Regions from separate parts of the Homo sapiens genome. Here all the other regions are linked to region 2. Evidence: promoter capture Hi-C in human tissues and cell types (Jung and others, 2019). All regions are on one chromosome and are shown on one strand. Each heading gives the region's core, a stretch centred on a gene start or on the middle of the fragment in contact. The rest is flanking DNA. Distances are from core to core; before and after follow the strand shown. Region 1 overlaps SMAD2 (SMAD family member 2). Region 2 holds the start of ZBTB7C (zinc finger and BTB domain containing 7C). Region 3 has its middle 78 kb from the start of SMAD2.

Region 1 (4,079 bases), core at 479-2,978, 490 kb after region 2:
TCAAGAGGCTGAGGTAGGAGACTTGCTTGAACCGGGGAGGCCGAGGTTGCAGTTAGCCGAGATCCCGCGACTGCTCTCCAGCCTGGGAGACAGAGCAAGACTCCGTCTCAAAAAAAAAAAAGAAAAAAAAGAAAATGTGGGGTGGCAAATCTTTTTTGCAGAGCCTCCTATATAAAATCCTCATAAATGATGCAGTGGAAGCTGGGCCCGTGAGCCTTCTGCCTTGACTTGAGTGAACTATTGAAACTCTTTTGTTGACTAGAGATACTTTATCTGTGGTAGTAAATGTAAATTTTCCTTATTGAGATCCACTTTTAAAATTCTTTTTTTTTTTTTTTTTGAGACGGAGTTTTGCTCCTGTTGCCCAGGCTGGAGTGCAGTGGTGCGATCTTGGCTCACTGCAACCTCCGCCTCCTAGGTTCAAGCAGTTCTCCTGCCTCAGCCTCCTGAGTAGCTAGGATTACAGGCATGCGCCACCATGTCCGGCTAATTTTGTATTTTTAATAGAAACGGGGTTTCACCATGTTGGTCAGGCTGGTCTCGAACTCCTGACCTCAGGTGATTCGCCCACCTTGGCCTCCCAAAGTGTTGGGATTACATGCGTGAGCCACTGCGCCCGGCCTAAAATTCTTAATAGACAGGTAGTTAGGTTGTAGTTCATGTTAGCTGATCAATTAAACTTTTTTTTAAAAAATGTTTTAGTTATCAGGAGGGTCCAGCTTTGGCCTGAGGTTGTGCATTGGCCATTTCTGCTCGAAACCAGTAGTAGTCAGACTTAAAACATGTGCACACCTGCACACACAGCAGCAACTAGAAAGCCTTTAGAGAGAAATATGCAGAATTTCGAAATGTAAAACAGATAAAAGGAGTAAAGCTGTTTTGTGGAAGGAAGAATAGGCAGTTGTTGAAGTCCTGCCTGATCAGTTTTCCTCTCATCCTCACCACCAGGAAGCCTTTGAAGCACAGCTGAAGAACAGTAGGTCTTGGAGAAATTTTTGCTGTAGACCTGCTCTATCTTAACAGGTAGCTGCCAGCCACATGTGGCTATTTAGCACTTGAAATGTGGCTGCTGTGACTGAGAAACTGAATGTTAAATTTTACTTAATCTAAATTTAGATAGCCATATGCAGCTGATGGCTACTGTATTAGACAGCACAGATACCCAAGGACATTTACATCATTGTATAAAGTTGTGTTGGGTGGCACTACTCTAGACTTTGCTTTAATTGAGCTTTTATGGCCTGAGGACCCCACTCACGTGAATTGACGTGGTATTAGTTGCTGCTTCAGAAGAGGGTCAGGATAGACTTTGGGAATTTGAAGAGCAATTAGAGTACTTGTACTTTATATTTGTGCTGATTTGAGTCTGGGCCTGTGTAGTGTTGTCATAGGTGCTTTTTTTTTTTTTTTAATAATCTGGGAATGATAAACCAATATGTAAGTTACGTGTTTACAAGTTGATTATAGAGTTGTGGATTCCACAAAACTCATTATAGGTGATAGGAATATAACTCTTAGTTAAAAAAAAAAAAATAAGTAGTCTCTTTACACAGCAGTCCCTATTTAATGTGGACTTTTGCTAAAATAATAATTTTCTTGAATTAAATTCAAGCTTGCATTAGGTTTGACAGTCCATAAAGTTGAACACATGAATGTTTTCTGTTTGCTTTTGTTTAAAAGACATGACCCATCATTCTCCATGGGGGCCGACCTAGGTTTCCAGTTGGCAGTGTCTTTCCTTACTAGCTTACGCTTTGGAGAGAACATAGTTGTAGTGAGAATTGAAAAATCTGTTTTTAAAAAATTGGGTTTTATGTATTTTAATTTTTTTGAGGTTTTCTATTATCCTGGTTACTAATGAATTATTTATTTGACTAAAACAGTTATACAATTCCAGGTCATTGATGCTGCTGTTTTTTTCTCTGCCTTGTAGTATGTTTGAACATAGATTGCTAAAAATCTCGGTCTCCACAGAGGATTGGTTCCGGGACTCTCCTGCAAGCACCAGAATATGAGAACGCTGAAGTCCCTTGTATAAAATGGTGTAGAATTTGTTTTATGCACATTTTATTGTTATTCTTTAAATCCTCTCTAGATTACTTAATATCTAATACAATGTAAATAGTTGTTATTCTATATTGTTTTAGAAATGATGAGAAAAAAGTCTGTACATGTTCAGTACAGTCACAGTTTTTTCCTGAATATTTTTTATCCATGGTTGGTTTAATCCATGTATTTGGAACCCACAGATAAGGAGGATTGACTGCACAGTGATTTTATATTATTTCTAGTGGGACCTTAGATGTTCTAGATGAGGCAGCACCATCATATTTAAAGTATTTTTGTTGAAATAATTAACTTTGGTTTTCTTTCTAAATAAAAATTCACATAGGTATTTGGGGAATATTTTGTATTTTCCTGCAGTTTGAAGATTTGAAATTTCTCTTCCCTCCATACCTTTTAAAAGTGCAATCTACTTTTGCTTTCTACATTTAATCACTATCTGTTCTTGACTTCAACTTTGCAAACATATTTTTTAACCATTCTTTTTCACATTTCCCTTCCTACTGGCCTTCCGGATGAACTGTCAAGTTTAGCAGTCTTTTCTCAGTGATCATACTTTCTTCAGTGTTTGCTGTTATTGTTTATACTGTCTTTATCTAAATTTCTTAAAATGACACAGACACAAGTTAGGCCCATTCTTCTTACTGTAAACAGATGAAAATGTTGGATAAAATATAAAAGTTTTCTCTTATGTATACAGTTGATCTTGAGAGAGAAAGTGCCCAGGTACTAGAAACTTAGAAAAATCAGTCAACTTTAAGGGAAGTGTGGCCTTGGGGGATTTACTAGAGATAAGATTCAGTAGTTGGGGCTGAGGTTATAATGCCATTCAATGAAAGGAGACAGAACTGTGGGAACTGTGTGCTTAAAAAAATTAAAAAATGAAAAGTGTTCTGGTATCATTGAAACATCTGGGGCTTCTTGGAGAAAGAAGCCTCAGACCTCTCTATGGAGGAACTGGAAAAACAGTAGGCTTTAGATGGACTTTAATATCACAGCAAGGCAAGGCAGGGTACATGAAAACATCTACAGCTGCATGTGGAATAGTGAATTTTTGTATACATAATCCATGACTGCAATCCAAAATTCAGGGATACCCAGTGAAGAGTCTCTTTACTGGTCTGTTCTTTGCCATACAGTTGCCTTTTCAAAGGCAAGTAGCTTTACTAGGTTTTTGTGTGGTGTTCCAGAGATTTTATGCATCTATGAACAATTTTGTGTGTATATTACCTTTTAGTACAAGTGGTCACATATGTCACTTAATAGTACATCTTATTTTGTGTCAGTATGTAATGAATGCCTTTCTTCTTTTTTGGAGTAGTGGGTTGTATAATATTCTTTTGTATGGGTGTCTGTAAATTTTTTTTTGAGACAGTGTCTCACTCTGTCACCCAGGCTGGAGTGCAGTGGTGTGATCACAGCTCACTGCAACCTTGACTGCCAGGGGTCAAGTTAATCTCCCACCTCAGCTACCTGAGTAGTTGGGACTGCAGGCGCATGCCTACCATATCCAGCTAATTTTTAAAATTTTTTGTAGAGGTGGGGTTTCGCCATGTTGCCTAGATTTGTCTTGAACTCCTGGGCTCAAGCGATTTGCCTGCCACGGCCCCTCAAAGTTTTGGGATTACAGGCGTAAGCCACTGTGCCTGGCCGGGTGTCTGAATATATCATCAGTCCTCTGTTGAATGTTTCCAGTCTTGTGGTATTAAAAACAATGCTACAACAAATAACTTCGTTTATATAGCATTTTGCTCCTTTGCAGGTATGTCTGTAAGATAGATTTCTAGGAGTAGTTCAAAGAATATCTACATTTGTAATTTATTTTAGAGAATGTACTTTATTCATTTTTTCGAATAACACATGCACATGGTATAAAAGTCAAGGAGAACAAAATAGCAAATACTGAAAAAAGTAAGCCTCCTTTACATCTCCTACCTCCTGCTGCCCAGTTGTGCTTTCCAGAAATGTAACCACTGTTACTAGCTTTTCGTTTATCCTTCTAGAGTTGCTCTGTC
Region 2 (4,144 bases), core at 559-3,058:
GTTTCAGATCCCTCTATTCATATCTAGTTTTCCACTCTTACATCCTATTCCAGAGCCCGTTTTCCCTTGTTTTCACTACTCCCAACGTACTATCTTGCAATGTGCGTTTATTACACGAATGAATGAAATGGTTTAAAAAAAAATCCCAATAAGTGATATTAGGAAGAGGCACCAAAGGTTCACAAACTTATTTTTGTGAATTCTGTAAAAAATGTCATCCAGTGTCTTCAGCATTAAAGGACACAGCAGCAGCCCCACTGCCCTTTTATTAATCCGTAGCCAGAATGGGCACTAGGCGGCCGGGATTCGCCATCTCGCCTCTCCTGGGCGCCAGGTGCGCCTCAGATAAGCGCAGCCGGGTAGGAGTTTGAGGACGACAAACTTTCCCGCTTCTGAGGGAGGAGCCCCGGAGAGGACCCGCTGACGTGCGAGGGTGCTGCCTCCGATGTACTACCAAGGAGGGCGAGGGTTCCTATGTCTGTCTGGAGCGCAGAGGGGTGGACTGCAAAAAGGTAGGAGGCAAAGCCAGCTCGAGTTTCCCCGGCCCGTAGCTGGAGGGAACATCTGCCCAAGTGTCGCCTCGCCCGAGAACGCTCACGCCCTCTCCAGGGCCAGGACCCTTCCTCCTCCCCTCGCACTGGCCCTTCGTGGCTTCCAGCACCGCTGAGCACTCGGCGTCCCAGCGAGATTCTCCTGCCCCGACAGACTCCGAGGGGGCGGGGCCCGGCGGGACGGGGCGGGGACAAGCCCTCCCCGGGCCCGCCCGTTGGCATTGTTGCGCGGTGATTGGACGCTTCGGAAGGCCGCCTTCCAGGCCGACCCGGGGAGTGACGGGCGGCCAGCGGCTGCTCCCCGGCGTGTGGGGTGCGGAGTGCGGGGCCCAAGGCTCCAGAGGGGTGGGGACTCCGGGCCGCAGCGCCGCCGAGCGCGATTGCCCGCTGAGATTCGGCGCCCCGGGGTGCGGCAAGCTTGCGGTTTCAGGTGCTGGCTAGGCGTCTTGGTGCGCTCGCTGGAGTGCCGAGAGCATTTGGGAAACTTAACTTCTCGCCCCCACTCCTTGCTCCCGACTTTCGGGTAGAAAAGCAGTTGCCGAGTTGTTTTATTTCCTCCCCCATCGGACTCTGTAAAAATAGCCGTGCGCCGGGGCGGCAGAGCCCATCTCTGCCGCACCGCTGCCCCGGGTCGGCAGAGCCCATCTCTGCCGCACCGCTGCCCCGGGTCGGGTGTGGACCTAAAAATACCCGGCGGTCCCAAGCCTGCGCTGGGGGTGCGGGCGGGTCCGGCCGGGCCGCAGAGGGCGTCAGGAGACCGGAGAAACGGCGGCCGCCTGGCCCCCTCGCCTCTGCCGGGGCTGTCCCTTTAAATCCTGGAGGAGGCAGAGAGAAAAAAGGAAAGAAAGAGAAAAGACGCGGAGCCCCGAGCGGTTGGTGGCGGTGCCCGGCCCCCCCACTCCGCCTCCGCGTCGGGTCCTGACTCCCGCCCGCAGCCTCCGCCAGTCCCGGGCGCCCCCCGCCGCGCCGCCCACTCGCCACAGTTACTGTCAAAATAGAAATTAGCGGAGCCGGGCGGGGGCTGCGGCGCAGCAAGTGCATGTGCCGCGCGGCGGGGAGGGGGCGGGCGCGAGCGACAGGCGACCGCACACATCCGGGCCCTTTAGCCCTGTGCGCCCCCCGAGCCGGCGGCGCGGGCGCGGGGCGCGGGGCGCGGGGCTGACAGCCGCGGCGCGGGAGGCGGGGCGCGGGGAGGGCGGAGGCGCGGCGCGGGGAGGGAGGAGCTGCCCGCTCGCCCGCTGCCGCCGCTCAGCTCCATACCCGCCGGCGCAGCCCCGCCACGAGACTCTGACAGCGGCGCGGCCGGCGAGGCTCGGGCGCGCAGGGACCGGCGGACACCGGCGGCGAAGGAGGACGCCAGGACTGCGTCCCGGAGCCAAGTGCGGGAGGCGCGCAGGGCCGGCGGCGCGCGGAGGTGAGCGGCTTCGCGCGCCGGGCTCGGGCGCCGGCTGCCGGGGTCGCGATCTCCACAGCACCTCGGCAGCCGAGGCAGTTCGGGAGGTCGCGGGGCGGCGGGCGGGTGGCTTTGCTTGGGCTGCGCCGGAAAGCGATTGCGGGGGCCGTTGCTAGGAGGCCGGCGGTCCGCGCGCCTTGGGGCGCCGGCTGGAGCAGGGGCGCCCTCCGCGCGGTGGGCAGGAGGCGGGGGGCTGCGGTGGCTATTCAGGGGCTCCGTGCGGCAGCCATGCAACGGAGGAGGCGGGAGGAGGGAGGGAGGGAAGGAGGGAGGGGAGAGCCAGCGGAGAGCGAGCCAGCGAGCGGGCGCCGCGCCTCCTGGCTGGCACCGCGGCCCGGAGCGAAGTGGCGCGCGGGGCTGGAAAGGAACTTCTGCGGGCGCGTGCGGCCCGGGGCTCGGCGGCGCCTGCGGGCCCGAGCGGGGCGGGCCCGTCGGCAGCCACAGGTGGTTTCTGCCAAAAGTTTTACCGCACTTCTGCCTGGAAGGCGCGGGAGCGTTTTGGTGAGTGACGTTTTCCTGGGACTTTTGCAGTCTCACTTCGCGCTGTCTTTTCTTGAAAATTGGAAAATGAGCTGGAAAGGCTGGGATCCAGCACCTCTCGATGAGATCTGAGCAGAGTACAGTCCTTGCCCGAGGTGTCGCTCATGCAGGACTCAAAGATCCTTGCTGCTGTCAAGTCGGGAAGCTGGGGGAAATGGGCGCACGCACACAGTTCCTCCAAGCCTCGGACAAGTGAAGCCGAGCCTGGCCCGGTGCCTGTCGCCGCGCGGGGTAGTGCGAGGTCTGTTCCCAGCGACACGCACGGGAACTGCGTGCGTCTTCTCTCAAGGTGTGTACGTCTCTTGCTCCGTTGAAAGCGAATTGTCTCTGGCCGCTGTGCTGCTTTGTTTTTCCGGTTGCTTGTCTGGTTTTACTAGGATGAAGGCCAGGAGGAGCCAAAGAAAAGCGAAGCGGCAGCTCCCGTTATCTTTGCAATCTGCAAAGCTGTGGAGGCTGGTACCCAACCTTCCGCGGCGCGGGCGCAAGGCCGAGGGGAGCTGGGGGTGGGTGGCGTGCGCTGCCTGTATGGGAAGTCTCGCTGGACCATGCGCAAGGCTAGAGCCGGAGTTTCTGGTGCTTCTAGGACAGAAAGAGGAGTGGGAGTGGGAAGGGAAGACCCCTTAAAAGAAGATATACTGTGCCCAGACCTGGGAGAGAGGCTCCGAGAAGTCCGGTGGCTTGGCCCTGTTCTTCATTGGCGGGGTTGAGGAATCCAGGGCAGCGAGGTAGAAACACCTCGGTAGGTCGTCCTGGGCTGAAAGAAATCATTATTCCCAGAGCGGGCCAGATACCCGGGTGTTGAAACTAGGTACAAAACTGCGTGAGAGGTGGAAACTCTCAGTCCTTCATTCTCCTTGGTCCGGTGGCTCCCGCTCCCTGCCCCCACAAGTACATGAGCAAAAAGCATGCCCTTTGCTTTATAGAAGGTCATAGGATTTTGAAGTTGAAAGAGACCCTAGAGATATTAGGAGCACTCATTTTACAGATGAGCAAACTCAGGCCCAAGGAAGGAAAGTGACCTGCTACAGTGGCTAGAGGCCCAGTGAGACTAGAAATGACATCAGCCTTCCAGGCAAGGGTGGAGAGACTTCCCTGGGCAAGGCCTGGTAGGGCTTGAGATCAGAAATGCCACCCCCACACCCCAAGCCCATCATGGCCTCTTTATCTGGTACTTTCTAAATCCATGCTTGCCAGCGAATGTGGTATATTTCCCGTCCCGTGCCCTTGGCTTAAAAAAACCAGGACTGTCACTGCAAAGTCCAGTCTGACACTATCCCAACTTTTCCTGCTCCCTCATTATCCCAAATTCCTCAAACTCCTTTTGTAACACAATGCAGCTTGATTAGCCAAGAAGAATTTGCAGCTTTTTTTCACTGAAGCACCCACTTTCCATAGGATGCCAGAACTCTGTTTTCCTGGTAATTAGATTTTACAGATATTTTTGAAAGGGAGCCCAATTTTGGATCAATTACACTTGGACACAAATGCTGTGCTGTTGTGGATACCAAATGAGAAAGATGAGCAATTATCTGGGGGTGTTGGAATAAATGTTGTTATGAGTATTTGACACAGCCATTAAACATCAATGAGTGGGTTTTCA
Region 3 (4,150 bases), core at 468-2,967, 400 kb after region 2:
GCAGGGTTGGCAGATAAAATACAGGATGCCCAATTAAATTTGAATTTCAGATAAACAAATAATTTGGGGGGTATAAGTATACATTTGGGACATACTACTATTAAAATATTATTTGTTGATTATTGATATGGTTTGGCTGTGTCCCCACCCAAATCTCATCTTGAATTCCCACATGTTGTGGGAGGGGCCTGGCTGGAGGTAATTGAATTATGGGGGCAGGATTTTGCGTGCTGTTCTTGTGAGAGCCAATAAGTGTCACCAGATCTGGTGGTTTTAAAAAGAAGAGTTCCCCTGTACAAACTCTGTCTCGTTGTCTGCTGCCATCCATGTAAGACATAACTTGCTCCTCCTTGCCTTCTGCCATGATTGTGAGGCTTCCCCAGCCATGTGGAGATGTAAGTCCATTAAACCTCTTTCTTTTGGAAATTCCCCTGTCTTGGGTATGTCTTATCAGCAATGTGAAAACAGACTAATGCAATTATCTAAAATTCAAATTTAAATGGGTGTCCTGTGTTTTAATTCAGCGGTCCCCAACTTTTTTTGGCACCATGGGCCAGTTTCACGGAAGACAATTTTTCCACAGACAGGGCACAGGTTTGGTTTCAGGATGAAACTGTTCCACCTCAGATCATCAAGCATTAGTTAGATCCTCATAAGGAGCAGGAAACCTAGATCCCTCGCATGCACAGTTCACAATAGGGTTCTCGCTCCTATGAAACTCTAATGCCTGATGATCTGACAGGAGGCAGAGCTCAGATAGTAATCCTCATCCACCTGCTGTTCACCTCCTGCTATGCAGCCCACTTCCTAACAGGCCATGGACCAGAATAGGTCCACGCCCAGGGGTTGGGGACTCCTGTTTTAATTTACTAAATCTGGTAACCCTAGCACAAAGTCAAGGGACATGCCCACCTGGAGCTCATGCCCTCCCTTTCGGATCATGCTTCAGGTACCCAGGGCCCTGCCCAAAGGTCCTGGGGCCCACATGGACGAAAATTATTATCTGAGCTCTGCCTCCCGTCAGGGGCCCACTTTAGGGCCTCTGCAGGTCCTCTTCCCGCAGCTGTCTGCTCTCACCAGTGTACACACTACCGGGCCTGAGGATTAGCCTGGGGGGTGTTTGGCTCTCGGGTGGGGATGGAGCTTGGGCTGCAGGCTGGGTGTCCATGCCTGCTCTGCAAGATCCTTACGGCGAAGTCAGAGCCTGGGCTAGGGAAAGGAAGGGGCAGACCACCGACCAGGGCTTCCATCTGTACTTCCGCCCAGCCTAGTAATGTTTCAGCAGGCCTGGCAGCAGGCACAAATGGCTCCTCCCAGAAGCCAAGCAAGGCAGTCCACACCTGTCACTCCTTACCCACTTCCCGCCTGCAGAAGTGTCCAGGTAGAGGAGTGGAGTCCCCTGAGGGAGCCTGTTTGCTGGCCAGGGTGGGACAGCGCTGTGGTCATGCCATTACTGGCTTCATTGTTCAGGAGAGTATCCCAGGCCAGGGTTGCAGGAAAACTGGTAGCCGATTGGAATTTAGTGGCTTTCCTATCAGGAAGCTGACAGGGCCCTGGCAACATCCCTGAGCCTCAGTGTCTTCAAGGGCAAAAGGGGAAGAGTTCCTACCTCTTGGATGGTTGTGAAAATTAGCATGATTCCATAAAACTATGGAGACAGTAAAAAGAGCAGGAGTTGCCAGGAGTTGGAAAGACGGAGGGTTGAATTTCTGGAGCAGTGAAAATGCTGTGTGATACCGGAATGACATGGCCTTACACATGTCATACCCATGGAGTGTACAGCACCAAGGGTGAACCCTAAAGAAAACTGTGGACTTTGGGTGACCCTGATGTGGCAGTGTAGGTTCACAATGGCAACCAATGCATGCCCTGGTCTGGAGGTCGAGAGTGGGGGAGGTTGTTCGGGGGTGGGTACAGGGGGGAAATGAAACTTTTTGTACTTTTGGCTCAATTTTATTGTGAATCTAAAATTGCTTGAAAAAAATAACGTCCATTAACTTTAAAAATGAGGTGTGGTAAAGAACGGACGAGTGCTTACACACAGTCATTCAACAGACATTTACTAAGTGCCTACGACGCGTCTGTATTTCTACAGGACCACTAAGCGTGAAGCAGGTAGAGTGAGACTTAGGACCCCGGGAGAAAAACCGCCCCTGGAGGGCGCGCCACGGGTGTGCGGTGTAGACGCGGGCGGGCCGGCGGCGGAGGAGGAGGTCCCGGCGCCGACCCCTGGAGCGGAGGCAGCAGCCGGGCGCAGCGAGACAAGTAGGCTGGGCTGGCCTGGCCGGCCAGGTGCGGGGAGGAGGCTCACAGACTGCGGCTAAGCCTGAGTCCGAGCCCAGCTGCGAGGCGGGGGCCGGGGCATGGGAGGAGGAGCGGGGAGGAGCCGGGAGGGGCGGGGGAGGTGGCCCGGGGGCGCGCCCCACCCCCAGCCCTGGCCCCCGCCCCCGGCCCAGCGCCCCCGCGTGGCCGCCGCTCGCAGTGCGCAGCGCAGGGAACAAAGCCCGCGGCGGGGCGGGGTCGGTTCGGCGGCTGGGTCCGGGCACCGGGATTCTGGGAAGCACCGACGCCCGAAACAAAAGCAGCTGTGCTTCTAGGCACGCTGTTGGAGATTATTCCGAGGAGCGCAAGCTGGGAGGGAATGAGGCGCTGTGACACCCCCTTCCCATTGGCAAAGGTTGCTTCCCCAGCCCCACAAAGCTCCATTCCGAGCGCTGGGCTGGCAGAGACCCGACTCCCGGCCGAGATGGACTGGAGAGGGGAAGAGCACAGGGCTAGGGAGCGGAAGCTTCGGGTCACTCTACAAAGTCCCGCAGAATGGTGCTTGCGGAGAGCACAGAGGGGATGGCCCCAGAAGCCCCACTCTCGGAGGCTGTGATGTGGACTGAAGTTAGTAGTGGGGCAGAAAAGCACATGGAGGAGCGTCCGGGCCCCCAGGCTCGCGGACCTGCAGTCAGCTGGAGAGGGTCAGAACAAGGGAGTCTCTCTGCTCTGAGACCCCTCAGCACCCCTCACTCTGCTGGGTCCCATGGTCCCTGCCATCTCCTGCCCGCAGAGGCTACCTTTACTCAGCACCACCCTCCTCATGGGCAGGGGAGGAGATGCCACTTTCCCCTATAAAACATCCCAGAGCTGCCTAAGGTGGCAAAGGAAGGAGACCCTGGTGAGGACAGGCCCTCAGTGCCACTCCTGCTCCAGTGCCCTGGCCCGAAGCTGAGCATGGACCTCAGCCTGAACCCAGGTGTTTGGCTGAAACCCGGCCGGAGCATCCACTAACACCTCAACGGGGGTCAAGAATGATGGGGGGAAACAGAGGCAGACCCTCCTGAATCCAGACCAAGCTTGTCCAACCCGCGGCCTCTGGCCGCGTGAGGCCCAGGATGGCTTTGAATGCGGCCCAACACAAATTCGTAAAATTTCTTCAAACAGTACGAATGTGTTTTTTTGTGATATTTAAAAAGTTACTCAGCTATCGTTAGTCTTAGTGTATCTTATATGTGGCCTAAGACAATTCTTCTTCCATTGGGACCCAGGGAAGCCAAAAGACTGGACACCCCTGATCTAGACCCTCTGCATTTGCAGACACTGCCTGTCTGGTCAGCTCCATGGGCCCATTTATCTTTGCGCCACAGCCCACTTCCCAGTGGGCCACAGCAGGTCCCCTTCCGCCTCCCAAGGCCAGTCCCAAGAAGGAGACGTCCAGAGAGTCTCCTAGGATTACCCACCTTTTTCCCAGAAACTGACACGCTGAGGGTGGCCTTGTAGAGTCCAGCAGGACACTCACTTCAGCCCAGGGAACACACGGAGTCGGCCAAATCAGTCAGGGATGTGGACTCATTCCTTCCACACAGTCCTTGGTGGTGGGGATCCGCTCTTCACCAACTCACTTGTGCTTCTACACAGGGCACCTGTGGCCAGCATTTCCAAGGAGGATGCTGGTGGTGCACCCCCTGTGGACAAGACGCTGTGGGAGCACTTTACATCATCCTATCCAGCCGAGTGGCTTCCCTCCCGCACAGCAGCCAACCTGTCTCTGGTCTCATCCTAAGCCCGGGGCAGTTTCCCTCAATCCTGCCTGCTATCCCTGTTTCCACTTCTAACCTCAGACACAAGCTTCTTCATCTGGTGGTGGTTTTCTTAAAATTACGAC

The links. Contacts are between HindIII fragments. The study calls those that stand out against the background at their distance.
Region 1: a fragment that was not itself captured here is called in contact with the fragment with the promoter of ZBTB7C in region 2 in 1 of the 25 tissues and cell types used here (heart left ventricle).
Region 3: a contact is called between a fragment that was not itself captured here and the fragment with the promoter of ZBTB7C in region 2, in 2 of the 25 tissues and cell types used here (dorsolateral prefrontal cortex and heart left ventricle).

What each region holds. Positions count from the first base shown.
Region 1 is chr18:47,920,510-47,924,588 of GRCh38, reverse strand. All of the region lies in intron 1 of SMAD2 (SMAD family member 2), which reads left to right. Among named protein-coding and RNA genes, the nearest start is that of SMAD2, 8.1 kb to the left of the region's middle. The HindIII fragment of the contact is 8,124 bases long and covers 1-4,079 here.
Region 2 is chr18:48,407,047-48,411,190 of GRCh38, reverse strand. ZBTB7C (zinc finger and BTB domain containing 7C) reads left to right here and starts at 1,808. Exons shown (of 5, transcript NM_001318841.2): 1 at 1,808-1,965. RefSeq lists a silencer at 640-1,019 and enhancers at 2,290-2,907, 2,908-3,527. The HindIII fragment of the contact is 7,054 bases long and covers 1-4,144 here.
Region 3 is chr18:48,006,634-48,010,783 of GRCh38, reverse strand. No RefSeq gene overlaps it. Among named protein-coding and RNA genes, the nearest start is that of SMAD2, 78 kb to the right of the region's middle. RefSeq lists silencers at 2,384-2,433, 2,444-2,553 and an enhancer at 2,229-3,142. The HindIII fragment of the contact is 4,020 bases long and covers 1-3,727 here.